Linked DNA regions of Homo sapiens: regions 2 and 3 are each linked to region 1. The links are contacts of gene promoters, found by promoter capture Hi-C in blood cells and fetal thymus (Javierre and others, 2016). All regions are on one chromosome and are shown on one strand. The core of a region is centred on a gene start or on the middle of the fragment in contact, and the rest is flanking DNA. Distances in the headings are between cores, read along the strand shown. Region 1 holds the start of TESK2 (testis associated actin remodelling kinase 2). Region 2 holds the start of PLK3 (polo like kinase 3). Region 3 has its middle 3.8 kb from the start of PTCH2.

What was found. The method cuts DNA at HindIII sites, captures the fragments that hold promoters and counts their contacts. A CHiCAGO score of 5 or more calls a contact.
Region 2: the fragment with the promoter of PLK3 here is called in contact with the fragment with the promoter of TESK2 in region 1 in 17 of 17 cell types (naive CD4 T cells, total CD8 T cells, non-activated CD4 T cells and 14 more); the score reaches 20.8 in naive CD4 T cells.
Region 3: a contact is called between a fragment that was not itself captured here and the fragment with the promoter of TESK2 in region 1, in 7 of 17 cell types (fetal thymus, naive CD4 T cells, endothelial precursors and 4 more). The highest score is 7.8, in fetal thymus.

What each region holds. Positions count from the first base shown.
Region 1 is chr1:45,489,149-45,493,240 of GRCh38, reverse strand. TESK2 (testis associated actin remodelling kinase 2) reads left to right here and starts at 2,078. Exons shown (of 11, transcript NM_007170.3): 1 at 2,078-2,389. RefSeq lists enhancers at 1,790-2,084, 2,371-2,420 and a silencer at 1,921-2,140. The HindIII fragment of the contact is 2,357 bases long and covers 1,446-3,802 here.
Region 2 is chr1:44,797,958-44,802,049 of GRCh38, reverse strand. It overlaps PLK3 (polo like kinase 3), which reads right to left and starts at 1,673. Exons shown (of 15, transcript NM_004073.4): 1 at 1,377-1,673; 2 at 1,103-1,210; 3 at 898-1,014; 4 at 299-428; 5 at 118-205. The coding sequence starts at 1,586. RefSeq lists enhancers at 997-1,046, 1,817-2,206, 2,257-2,316, 2,001-2,669 and a silencer at 1,437-1,716. The HindIII fragment of the contact is 10,835 bases long and covers 1-3,048 here.
Region 3 is chr1:44,844,968-44,849,059 of GRCh38, reverse strand. No RefSeq gene overlaps it. Among named protein-coding and RNA genes, the nearest start is that of PTCH2, 3.8 kb to the right of the region's middle. The HindIII fragment of the contact is 3,756 bases long and covers 1-3,740 here.

The DNA of each region.
Region 1 (4,092 bases), core at 829-3,328:
GATCTCTCTTCTCCCTTCAGAGATTCTGTGAGCTACCAATTAATCTTCCTAAAACACTGCCCTGTTTAGTTTATGGTCCTGCTCAAGAATAGCTCTCACAGCATAAAAAACAAAAGACAAATTTGAATATTGGCATTTAAGCCCAACCCACATGCAGCCTCTTCTCTCTCCAATATCTCCTACCACACTTCTTTCTTTCTTTTTATATTTTTTTGGGACAGGGTCCTGCTCTGTTGTCCAGGCTGGAGTGCAGTGGCACCATCCACAGCTCACTGTAGCCTTGACCTCTGGGCTCAGGTGATCTTCTGGCTTTAGCCTCCCAAGTAGCTAGGACCACAGGTACATGCCACCATTTTGGGCTCATTTTTTTTTTTTTTTCTGTACAGACAGGGTCTCGCTATGTTGCCCAGGCTGGTCTCAAACTCCTGGCTTCAAGTGATCCACCTTGGCCTCCCAAAGTGCTGAGATTACAGAAGTGAATCACTGTGTCTGGCCATATTTTTTTTTTTTTTTTTTTTTTGAGACGGAGACTTGCTGTGTCGCCCAGGCTGGAGTGCAGTGGTGCGATCTTGGCTCACTGCAACTTCTGCTTCCCGGGCTCAAGCGATTCTCTTGCCTCAGCCTCCTGAGTAGCTGGGACTACAGGCACGCGCCAATACACCCAGCTAATTTTTCTATTTTTAGTAGAGACGAGGTTTCACCATGTTTGCCAGGATGGTCTCGATCTTCTGACTTCGTGATCCCCCTGCCTCGGCCTCCCAAAGTGGTGGGATTACAGGCGTGATCCACTGCTCCCGGCCCTGGCCATATTTCTTAAACTTTATGGCCACCAGGAATGCATACCACTTATACTCTTCCAGGAGGATGAAAGTCTTAAGATGTCTGAAAAGGGGTCTCTAACCCCTGGGAGTGCTAATACAGTAAGGCCCATACTGCTTGCTCTTGCCCTCCTCCTGTTCTAGTCTCTTCAGTCATGAGATTATGAGCTCCTGATGTCCAGGCACATGCAAAAAGTGAAGAAATATGTGCCTTGAACAGCTGGGCAGAATTCTTAGCTGGGAGCGGTGGCTCACGCCTGTAATCCCGGCACTTTCGTAGGCCAACGTGGGCCGATCACTTGAGTCCAGGAGTTACAGACCAGCCTGGGCAACATGGTAAACCCCGTCTCTACAAAATATACAAAAAATTAGTCAGGCATGCTGGCGTGTGCCTGTAGTCCCAGCTATCCGGGGAGGCTGAGTTGGGAGGATCATCTTAATCCAGGAGTTTGAGGCTGCAAGTGAGCCATGATCGCTCCATTGCACTCCATCATCCTGGGCGACAGAGTGAGACCCTTCTAAAAAAAAAACAACCAACAAAAACAACAAAAAATCCCAACTTATTCCCCACCAGCTTTCTTTCAAAATCTGTTTTCAAGCTAGCTGAAGTGTTACCTCCTCTAAGCTTTCACTTAACCGAATCTCATAGTCATGATTAATTGCTTCCCTAGCATTTTGTTTAGCTCTACTGATTGCTCTTACTATTTCAAGTCGGTATTATTGATATATTTTTTCCTCCTCACTATACTGAAATCCTGCAGGACGCAGCATTCTTACCGCTTTTCCTTACTCAGCTATACCTTGACCAACCCGAAAGCCGCGCCAGTCTAGTCCATTTTCTATTGGCTTTATCAATTACCAATCATTTCTGTGTTTAACATTTTTATTGGTCCATCTTGTGTTTACTGCCCCGCCCTCTAAGAGGCTCCTGGACTTGGGTTTCCCCCAGGTGTATTCCCTCCTCCTCGGTTCCGCCTTTCCCACACACTGCTTCTTCTGTTTTTACCTCGACTTCCTTCCTATTGGTTCCCTTCGTCCTCCGGAGTTGGCACCTACGGCTGTTGATTGGCTTTTCTGGACGCCCATTGTGCCCACCCTCATACCACGTGGCATTCCTAGCGCTAATTGGGCAATTCCACTACCTCGTTTATCAGGAGTTGACGGTTGACTGGCTACTCTGAGGGAGGGCTTGAGGGAGGGGCGTGGCCAGCCGAGACCCCGCCCCCAACCCCCCTGCTGGGCCGGGTAGGCGTTTCAGTCTTTCGCGGCCCGGGAGCTCAGCAGAGCTACCAGCTGCCCTGTTGGCTTCGCTGGTCGGATCGTCCTCCTGGCCCCGCCAAACAGGCGGGGGGAGCGGCCCCGACTGTGGGGCCATGGCAGTAGTCTCCTCGTTCGCCGCCGCCGCTAGCCTAGCTGAGTCGCCGGCTTCTGCGCTAGGGGCTCCCACCGCCTCCGCAGGCTAAGGAGCCGCTGCCACCAACGAGCTGTGAGGGTTACTATGCTCCCTCTTTGCCGCCGTCTCCTCCTCTTGCCCGCGCAGGCACCCCTCTGGCTGCTCAGTCCTGCCTCAGGTAACGTGAAAAGAGGACGGGGGTCACAAACCCGGGCATCCTGCCTGGCCCGCGCGCGCTGCCGCTCCACCTCCTCTGCCCCGGAGCAGAGGCGCCTGCGTCCCTCCGCACCCGACGGGACCCCTCGGCTTCCCAGAGGTCCCCCTCTCAGCGGCGGCGGACGCTCCCTTCCTGGCCGCTTTCCCCTTTCCTTCTCACTTCCCTCAGGCTCCCCGCCACGTCTGCTCCCCCTTAGAACCTGGGAACCCATTAGAAGTTACCTCGCTCGCATTAGGGATCTTTCGTTTTCTCGGAAAACTCTTGTTTCAGAGACTTCCAGCTCCCCACTGAGCGCCTCCCTGCTCGCATACCCGCTCCTGCCTCAGAGATCTGGGTTCCTTCACTTGACTTCCCTCCGATACACTCTTCCCTCGAAAACGTTCACCTCTACCCAGGAAAACAATTCCCTCCCCTCAGACCCTACTGCCTTCCCCCTCTTCTTTCCTCGCTTGTCATCGTCTCCCTTCCTTTCCCCTCTCTGCTTTTTACTCTTCGCTGTGAAGAGTGGACTAAGCCAGTGTTCAGATTTCGCTACAAGCGAAATCCAGGTTTGCGTAATTTAAAAGTCTTTAAATTGTATACCTCTGAGAAGAACTTGCTGAGGAATTTGGACTTCATGCTGCATGCATGGGGAGCCGTTGAAGGTTTTGTAAGCAGGAGCTTGGTATGATTGCATTATCTTTGGTGAAAATATAGAGGAAGGATTGAAAGTGAAGACCGTGGAGGCGGAAAGGCCAGGTAGGCAGAAAACGAGTGTGCTCATCCAGGCGGGAGGGAATGGCCCGAAATTCCAAGAGGTTTCAAAATAAAGTTGAGAAGAATAGTAGAAAGTTTCTGACTTGGCTGATGGTGTGAATCGGTAGTGTTAATTGAAATAGGGAACATAGTCTCTGGTTATACCACCCTCAACGCTCCTGATCTCATCTGAAATAGGGAGCATAAAAAAGCAATTTTGAGAGAAGGTAATAAATTTGGTTTTGAACAAGTTAAGTTTCAGGGTTTGTTTGTTAGTTTTTGTTTTTTTTGACGGAGTCTCATTCTGTCACCCAGGCTGGAGTGCAGTGGCACGATCTCAGCTCACTGCCACCTCCTCCTCCCAGGTACAAGCGATTCTCCTGCCTCAGACTACCGAGTAGCTGGGATTACAGGCATGCGCCACCACGTCCGGCTAATTTTTGTACTTTTAGTAGAGACGGGGTTTCCCCACGTTGGCCAGGCTGGTTTCGAACGTCTGACCTCAGTCAATCCGCCCACCTCGGCCTCCCACAGTGCTGGGATTACAGGCGTGAGCCACTGCTCCCAGCCGAGTTTGAGGTGTTTTGAAATATCACTGTGGGTATCTGGAAATTTGGGTCTGAAAATTGGGAGAAAGCTTGGACCTGGATACATAAATTTGGAGGGTCAAGAGAATATATGGGGGATATTTGTGTGCCTTAGTATGGAATGGTAATACTGAAAGATGAGAAGGGCTGTGGACCAGAAGGAGCATCATTGTTTGAAAGGTAATAGACACTGAAAAAGAGAGATTAAAGGAACGGGACAAGAACTAGAACATAACAGCATTATAATAGGAGCCAAAGAAAGGATTTCAAGAAGGGAGTGGGGGGCGGTGACTATCAATGTCACGTGCTTTCGAGGTCCAGCTGAATGAGAGTTAAGAAGCT
Region 2 (4,092 bases), core at 424-2,923, 690 kb after region 1:
CCTTCCCATTTATCTCATGCACACATCAGGCAGTCACCTTGCCTCCCACATACATATGCACTGTCTATCACGCATGTCATCTGTATCACACACAGGGCCCCTTTCCTCAAAACTCACTTCTTCCTCTGCTCCGGAGGCTCCAACCGGGCTGCCAGCCCAAAATCCCCCACCTTCAGTTCCATGTTCTCAGTGATGAAAAAATTTCCTAGATGGGGCAAGAGAGGTGTGTCAGATTCTTTCCTTCCTCCCTCCCTCCCTCCCTCCCCAACCTCCCATCCTCCAGGCTCAGGAGTCTCACCCAACTTGAGGTCCCGGTGCAAGATGCCGCGCTGGTGCAAGTACTTGAGGCCAGAAAGGATCTGCCGCAGGTAGTAGCGCACTTCTGGCTCCAACAGGGTGTGCCGGGCCTTCCAGATGTGGGCCAGGGACTGCAGAGAGCCACTGCCTCAGCCCCTGGTGAGCCCTCCCTCCCCCTCCCCCTCCATCTGTGCTCCCTGAGGAAGAAACAGGGCCCCAGCTTTGGGTCTTAAGACTGTCTTCTCGGCTGGGTGTAGTGGCTCACGCCTGTAATCCCAGCACTTTGGGAGGCCAAGGCAGGTGTATCACAAGGTCAGGAGTTTGAGACCAGCCTGACCAACAGGGTGAAACCCTGTCTCTACTAAAAATACAAAAATTAGCCGGGCGTGGTGGTGCATGCCTGTAATCCCAGCTACTCAGGAGGCTGAGGCAGGAGAATTGCTTGAACCCGGGAGGCAGAGATTGCAGTGAGCCGAGATCGCGCCACTGCACTCCAGCCTGGGCAACAGAGCAAGACTCCATCTCAAAAAAAAAAAAAAAAAAAAAAAAGACTGTCTTCTCTCCCTCACTCTCATCCCTGCGGGAATCACCATCTTTCACCTTTCGGCTGCAGAGCTCCAAGAAAATGTAGATGTTGTCAGCGTCCTCAAAGTGGTGCGAAAAACGCACGATGTGGCGGTGCTGCAGGTCTCGGTGCAGCTCAATCTCATTTAGGATCTGCGATGAGGGCGCGGAGTCGTCATCCTTCCATGGTTCCCATGCCACCGTCCCCACCCCACCCCTCGCCCGCTGAGCCTGGACCCACCTTCTCGCGCTGATGCGGCTTGGCGACGCGGCTCTGCGGGATGACTTTGACAGCGTAGGCGCTGCCAGTCTCTGTGTCAGTGGCCTCGTAGCAGCGGGCGAAGCCCCCCTGTGAAGAGGGGGCATCAGGCTGGTTGTTCCAGGGGGGCCGAGTCTGGCCCGCGGGCGTCCCCGCGTTGGGGGTCAAGTGCCCACGCCCTGCTCGGCGCCAGAAAAGAGGCCGGCCGGGACCCCCACCTCCACCATCACCACCCCGCGGACGTCCCTCGGCCCACCTTGCCCAACAAGCGGCCTTTGAGGTAGGTGCGGCCGCTGCGCGGGTCCGTGATGAGGCGCCCGGGGTCTGACGTCGGTAGCCCGGCCAGCATCTCCAGCTCAGGTCCGCGCAAGGCACTCGGAGGCGGCCCGGGCCCGGCCGGGGGAGCGGGCGCGGCGGCCGCACGCTGGAAGGGGCGCGGAGACAGGAAACCGGCGGCAGGCTCCATGCGGCCGGCGCGTCGCAGCGCGGTCCCGGCTTCTCGGTTCCGCCCGGCCCCGGCCGCGCGTGGCGCTGCCTGGATTTGCTACGCTGCGCTGGCGCCCAGGGGAGCCCAGCGTTTTATCAATGAACGCCTGCCCCCTCCCCGGCGTCTGGTCACCGAGAGTCCCGCCCCCTTCCTAGCAGCGAGTCGAGGAGAGGCCACTCCCATTCCCGGCCTTACATCACCCAGAAGCTCCTCCCCCACCCAACGCACTGCCAGACCCCGCCTCCTCGCCGCGCCCCGGGGCGCAGCCCGGCAGCTAGTCACCATGCAGGTGCAACCAGGCCGCAGGGGCCAGCTGATCCCTGTCCGCCTCTCACCCCTCCTTGGCCACTGCGAGTCCCGCTCGTGGGGGCCTCTTTCTTTCCCCATCCTTCGGGATGTGTGCTGAAGTCCGAGTGGGGCCCGGGCATCTGGGGGCGTCTCCCCAGCAACTAGATAGATCAGCGTTCCAGCCAGCAGCGGAGAGGCAGGGGCGGCGCTCGCTTTTGCCCGGGCATGTTACCCGACACTCCCCTTTCAGTGTGCCGGACCGCGTGTGTCCCTCGCCCTCGCCCGGGGCCCGGCCCAGTGCTGCCCTCTTTAGGGCCTGGAAGGAAGGCACAGTCTCGCGCCTGGCTTGCCTGGCCCGAGGGCTGCCTTGCCAGGTTTAGGAGTCAAGCAGAGTCTGGAATTTCAAGGCTTTTACCATGCTCCAGGCCACATCTTCCGCTACCCACTTCTACACTCTTGAGGGGCAAATTTCGGGTTCCTCCGGGGTCCGCAATTCCCTTCCTCTGAAAATACCCCCGGGCCTGGGTCAGCAGCCAGAGGCCAGAAAGTGAATGGGAATTGGATTTTCTTTTTTCTTTCTTTCTTTCTTTTTTTTTTTTTTGAGACAGAGTTTCGCTCTTGTTGCCTAGGCTGGAGTGCAATGGCGCGATCTTGGCTCATCGCAAACTCTGCCTCCCAGGTTCAAGCGATTCTCCTGCCTCAGCCTCCCGAGCAGCTGGGATTACAGGCATGCGCCATCACACCCGGCTAATTTTGTATTTTTTTTTTTTTAAGTAGAGACGGGGTTTCTCCATGTTGGTCAGACTGGTCTGGAACTCCCAACCTCAGGTGATCTACCCGCTTCGGCGTCCCAAAGTGCTGGGATTACAGGCGTGAGCCACCTTGCCTGGCTGGGAATTGCATTTTCTCAAATGCTAGACACGGGCACTTGGGCAGCTAGTCTCTGGACCACGTGGACCCCTAGACCCCTGCGCAATGCCCACCCTTCCCAGGGCCAGAGACAGAGGCCCAGGACCACAGGCCTCCTGGCCTTGTCTCTCACCTCTCTGCCCTCCCTCTGTGCCAGCCAATCAATTACCATGCCATTCCTCAAAGATTTATTGAGAGCATCTGCTAAGTGCTGGACACTATCTCGAATAAAACTAATCAAGCTTGCAGCCCTCATTTAGTTTACATTCTGCTTGATGGAAACAGACAATAGGCAAGCAGATAAACAAGGTAATTGCAGGCTGTGAAAAGTGCTATGAAGGAAGAATAAACAGAAGAGCAAATGAAGAGCCTACTTTAGAAAGAGTAGCCAGGAAAGTCAACAAATATTTGCTGAGTACCCAATTTGTGCCAATTTTACCTCCCAAATAGCTCTGATATCTATCCCCTTGGCTCCATCTTCCCCTCACACCCTGGCCTGGGCCACAGTCTCTCTTGTCAGGATGATTGCCACAGCTCCTTGCTGCTCTCCTGGCCTTTGGTCTCATGCCCATTTCATCCCCTCCATATGCTATTAGAGGGATCCCACCCAATCCCTCATCAGACTCACGAGGGCAAACTTCTCCAACCTTGTCCTTCATGACCACTGAAGGGAGACCCACGATAGCCTCAGATGTGGAGAAATACTAGTAGCCAAAATTACTGAGGGGGAGTTGGGGATAGGGATGGGCAGGAAGACCCTAAGTGCCTGCTCAAGAGTCTGGTCTTTATCCTTATAGGTCAGCAGTCTTCCAGAGGGGAGATGGTGGTGGGGCTAGAAAGGACAAATCCCCAGGGTAAATGGATCTGAGGCATTTAGAGAGTCAAAAAGGCATATTCAATTTTGCACCGTTATTTATTTTGTTTTGTTTTGTTTTGTTTGTTTTTTGAGACAGAGTCTTGCTCTGTTACCCAGGCTGGAGTGCAGTGATGCGATCCTGGCTCACTGCAACCTCTGCCTCCCCGGTTCAAGCGATTCTCCTGCCTTAGCCTCCAGAGTAGCCAGGATTACAGGCTCGTGCCACCACGCCCAGCTAATTTTTGTATTTTTTAGTAGAGACAGGGTTTCACCATATTGGCCAGGCTGGTCTCAAACTCCTGACCTTGTGATCCACCCACCTCGGCCCTCCCAAAGTGCTGGGATTACAGGCATAAGCCACTGTGCCTGGCCCAAAATTCGTGTATATATATATATATATATATATTTTTTTTTTTTTTCTTTTTTTTTGAG
Region 3 (4,092 bases), core at 613-3,112, 640 kb after region 1:
TTGTTGAGTTTGAGTCCCAGCTGGGAGCAGCCCCCAGCTCAGGACACTGCTGCTATTGTCTGACAGTTCCAGGACTGGCTGGGTGCCCAAGATGCTTTGATTTTTCTTCTCTTTGCCCTGTTTGTCTGCCAGAAGGCAGGGACAGTTTTTGTTTTCTTTTGGTAGCAGCTACAGAGGGGCTGAGTATGTCTGAAACATAGTGAGCAACTGAATGTCCACTGGCCGGCCACCTCTCCATGGACAGAAATCAGAAAAGCAAGGCAGGCAGAAGAGTTAATAGGGTCTGCCCTGCCTCTCCCAGTGATGCTCAATGAGGGAAGTGGAGGAAGAGGAGAAAGGGGACCTCGAATGCCGAATCAGGGAGGACCCTGGGGATGTGCTGAGGAACAGGGTTCCGGGAGCTTGCCGGGTCAGACAAAACTTGACAGCTGCTACTCCAGGAATCCATCCCCCAGTTACAATTCATCCTTGCCTGCTGGCAAGAGTTCCTTGAGCCGAGAAGACTGCCACTACCCAGGATGATTGCATCAGGGGCCTTCTGCCATGGATAAATGGGGAGCTGCTGCATTGGTTCTTAGCCTCTCTCCTTTCCCCATACTTGAAGTGAGGGCCCATAAGCTCCTGTGAGCCTATAAGACTGCCAAGATTGCCCTCCAAGCTGTTCCCCAAGGCCAAAGGTCGAACTTCTTCCCAGTTCTTCACTACTTTACTATTACCATCCCACTTCCATACTCAGTGGAGAGAGGGAAATTGTGTTTAGCTGTAGCCCCAACAGGAATCTAGGGCCTGCATGGCCTAGTTGAGAAGTTGTTTCTATTTCCAGAGAATTGCAGGGGATACACTTTCTTTATCCACAGCTATCCCTACTCCTAAGGAGGTACATAAACCAGGCCTTTGTATGCAGCTTTCTAAATAGTTAAATGTGTCTGAGGAAGGGGGAGGCCCATGGAAAGGACCACCCAGACAGAAAGTCTAGAAAGCTCTGCTCTAATGAAGCTGACCCAGAGGGAGAGAGACTGGGCAGGAGAACACATTCTACTGGAAGCCAGTATGACCTGTCCTTGGCCTGAGCCATCTGCCACTACCCAGGATGATTGCATCGGGGCCTTTCTGCCATGGATAAATAGAGAGAGGCTGCATTTGTTCTTAGCCTGTCTCCTTCCCCCACACTTAAAGTGAAGGACCATTCCCTAATCTCTGGCTGCAGCCCTGGCACCAAATACTTGATAGGTACGCCAGGCGCGGTGGCTCACGCCTGTAATCCCTGCACTTTGGGAGGCCAAGGTGGGTGGATCACCTGAGGTCAGGAGTTCAAGACCAGCCTGGCCACCATGATGAAACCCCATCCCTACTAAAAATACAAAAAGTTAGCCCGACGTGGTGGCGGGCGCCTGTAATCCCAGCTATTCAGGAGGCTGAGGCAGGAGAATCGCTTGAACCCAGGAGGTGAAGGTTATAGTTAGCCAAGATGGCACCACTGCACTCCAGCCTGAGCAACAAGAGCAAAACTCCATCTCAAACAAACAAATACTTGATAGGTGCTATTGGCCTCAACCTGCCCACAGGGAAGGAGCATACATACCCAGGCTTGGCCCCTAAATATAACAGGTGGTGATGGGGCTGCCCAGGACCCCCACTTCCCTCCTCCACATCTCAGGGTCATTGACTCTGCTTGGCCTAGATAACAGAAGCAGCCAAAAGCTGGCGAGTGAGAAGCCTAGAGGAATGCCAGAGAAAGCAAGCCTGCCTTGCCTCCACCATGAATTAACTCCCACATGAACCCACCCCTGAAGCCAGACTGGTCACTTTACCCAGCACTGTGTGTATGTGAGTGTGGGCTGCCTCACTTTTCCTGGCACTGTTCCTCAGCCATATGTATTATCTCATTTAATCCTTATGTTAATGTCAGAGATTATGTGACTTCCCTGAGATCTCACAACCAGCAAATGAAAGATCCAGACCATGAGCCATTCCTTTTCCTTTTAGATTCTGTCATCCTCCCACCTCTCCCATCCAGTTCCTTTCACTTCTGGAAACATCCCTGAGTACCCCCAACTCAGTGGTTTCCCCTGTGGTCTCTGTGCTCCCCCTCAGGCTATGAACTTCTAAAAAGCAGGTACCCTGCAACACCAGAACCCAGCAAAGGAATGGACACATAAGAGATCCCAAGGCTGGGCGCGGTGGCTCATGCCTGTAATCCCAGCACTTTGGGAGGCCGAGGCGGGTGGATTGCCTGAGCTCAGAGTTCAAGACCAGCCTGGGCAAAACGGTGAAACTCTGTCTCTACTAAAATACAAAAAAATTAGCCAGGCGTGGTGTCACGCGCCTGTGGTCCCAGCTACTCGGGAGGCTGAGATGGGAGGATCACTTGAGCCTGGGCAGTAGAGGCTGCAGTGCACCAAGATCATGCCACTGCACTGCAGCCTGGGTGACAGAATGAGACCCTGTCTCATTGAAAAAATTTAAAAAAAGGAGATCCCAAGACGTTTGTTTCATGAGTCAGTAATGAGATTTAATTAGATTGCTTTTATCCTGTTATTTGGAGAATATCTCTAGTTTAGGCCCAAAACACGTACCCAGGACCAGTGGAAATGACAGTGAAACAAGCTGTTCTATCATAAAGGAGGCTGCTTGCAGAAAGAGAAGAGAAGCCTCTTTATCCCTTCCTATTCCTGGGGTCTATGGCTTTGGCTCTGGCTGAGCTTAGCTGGGCTCAGGAAACCATTTTGTTTGGGAGAAGACAGGTCATTTTGTAGCTTGGAGCAGCCAGACAGCACTAGGCCCTAGGTTGGAAAGGCTGGAAACTGTAGACCCATTTCTTCCATCCTAGTCTTTGAACTATAAGGCAAGAGGTTTCCTTAATAGACAGACTTGGCCTTGGAAGCATCCATAGAAATGGTGGACTTTGTCACAATTGTTAGCAGTGATGGGCCTATGATGAAAGCAGAGTCCCAAGGCCCAAGTGGTTACAAATCTATTTATCCATGGACCTTATGTCTTGCAGAGTCTGGTAAAAAGGAAGGAGATTAAGACTTACTTAAAGCATAGCATCGGGAGTTGTACTCCTGATGACAACCAGTGCTGAGTCCAGGCCACTCCCTGTCTTCAGCTATTGCCCCAAGAGCAAACTAGGGGCCCATACAGACTTAAGTTAGAGGCTGTTTCTATTTCAGAGACTTGCTAGGGGTACAGTTCTTTTTAACCTTAAATTTTTTATGTTATCATTATTATTGTTTTTTGAGGCAGGGTCTCACTTTGTCGCCCAGGCTGGAGTGCAATGGCACAATCACAGCTCGCTGCAGCCTCTATCAACTCTCCTGCCTCAGCCTCCCAAGTAGCTGGGACTACAGGTGTGCGCCACCACACCCAGCTAATTTTTTATTTTTTGTAGAGATGGGGTCTCACTATGTTGCCAGGGCTTGAACTCCTGGCCTCAAGCAATCCTCCCGCCTCAGCTTCCCAAAGGGCTGGGATTACAAGCATGAGCTACCATGCCACTTTATGCTCAGCAGGACACACTCTATAACAGGGAGAAGAAAGTGCTATTCAGGTAGGCTGCTTTTCATGTGCAGTTACTGTTTGGCCAACAGCATCATACATATATTAGTTCCTCCATAGGCATTTTTCTGGGTGAATGGACAAATGGAAATGGCAAACCTGTTAGGTGTTCACCCCTTCAACCTAAATGTTCCTCTTCCCCAGGACTGAGGCTCTAGAGATGATGTTAATTTGCACAAGCTTTCAAAAAATCAGTTGAGCAGTGTGTATCAAGAGCCATAAAAATGTTCATACTCTTTGACCCAAACAACCCACTTCTGGGAATCTGTCCTAAGGATATTCTCCAAATGATTGATTACAAAAACTACATAGTAACATGAAATATTTATGATGGAATGATTTTTTTTAAGTCTGGAAGAACTGACCAAGAAATTTGCCAGAGATAATAGTAGTTGTGTTAGAAAAATTAGCTTATTGTAGATTCATTTTCTCTTTCTCAAACTTTACATATTGGAATATTGATTTTACCCTACTCTGCCACTTGAGGTTTATCAATCAGGAACCCAATAGAAACAGCACACTCAGATAGGATAG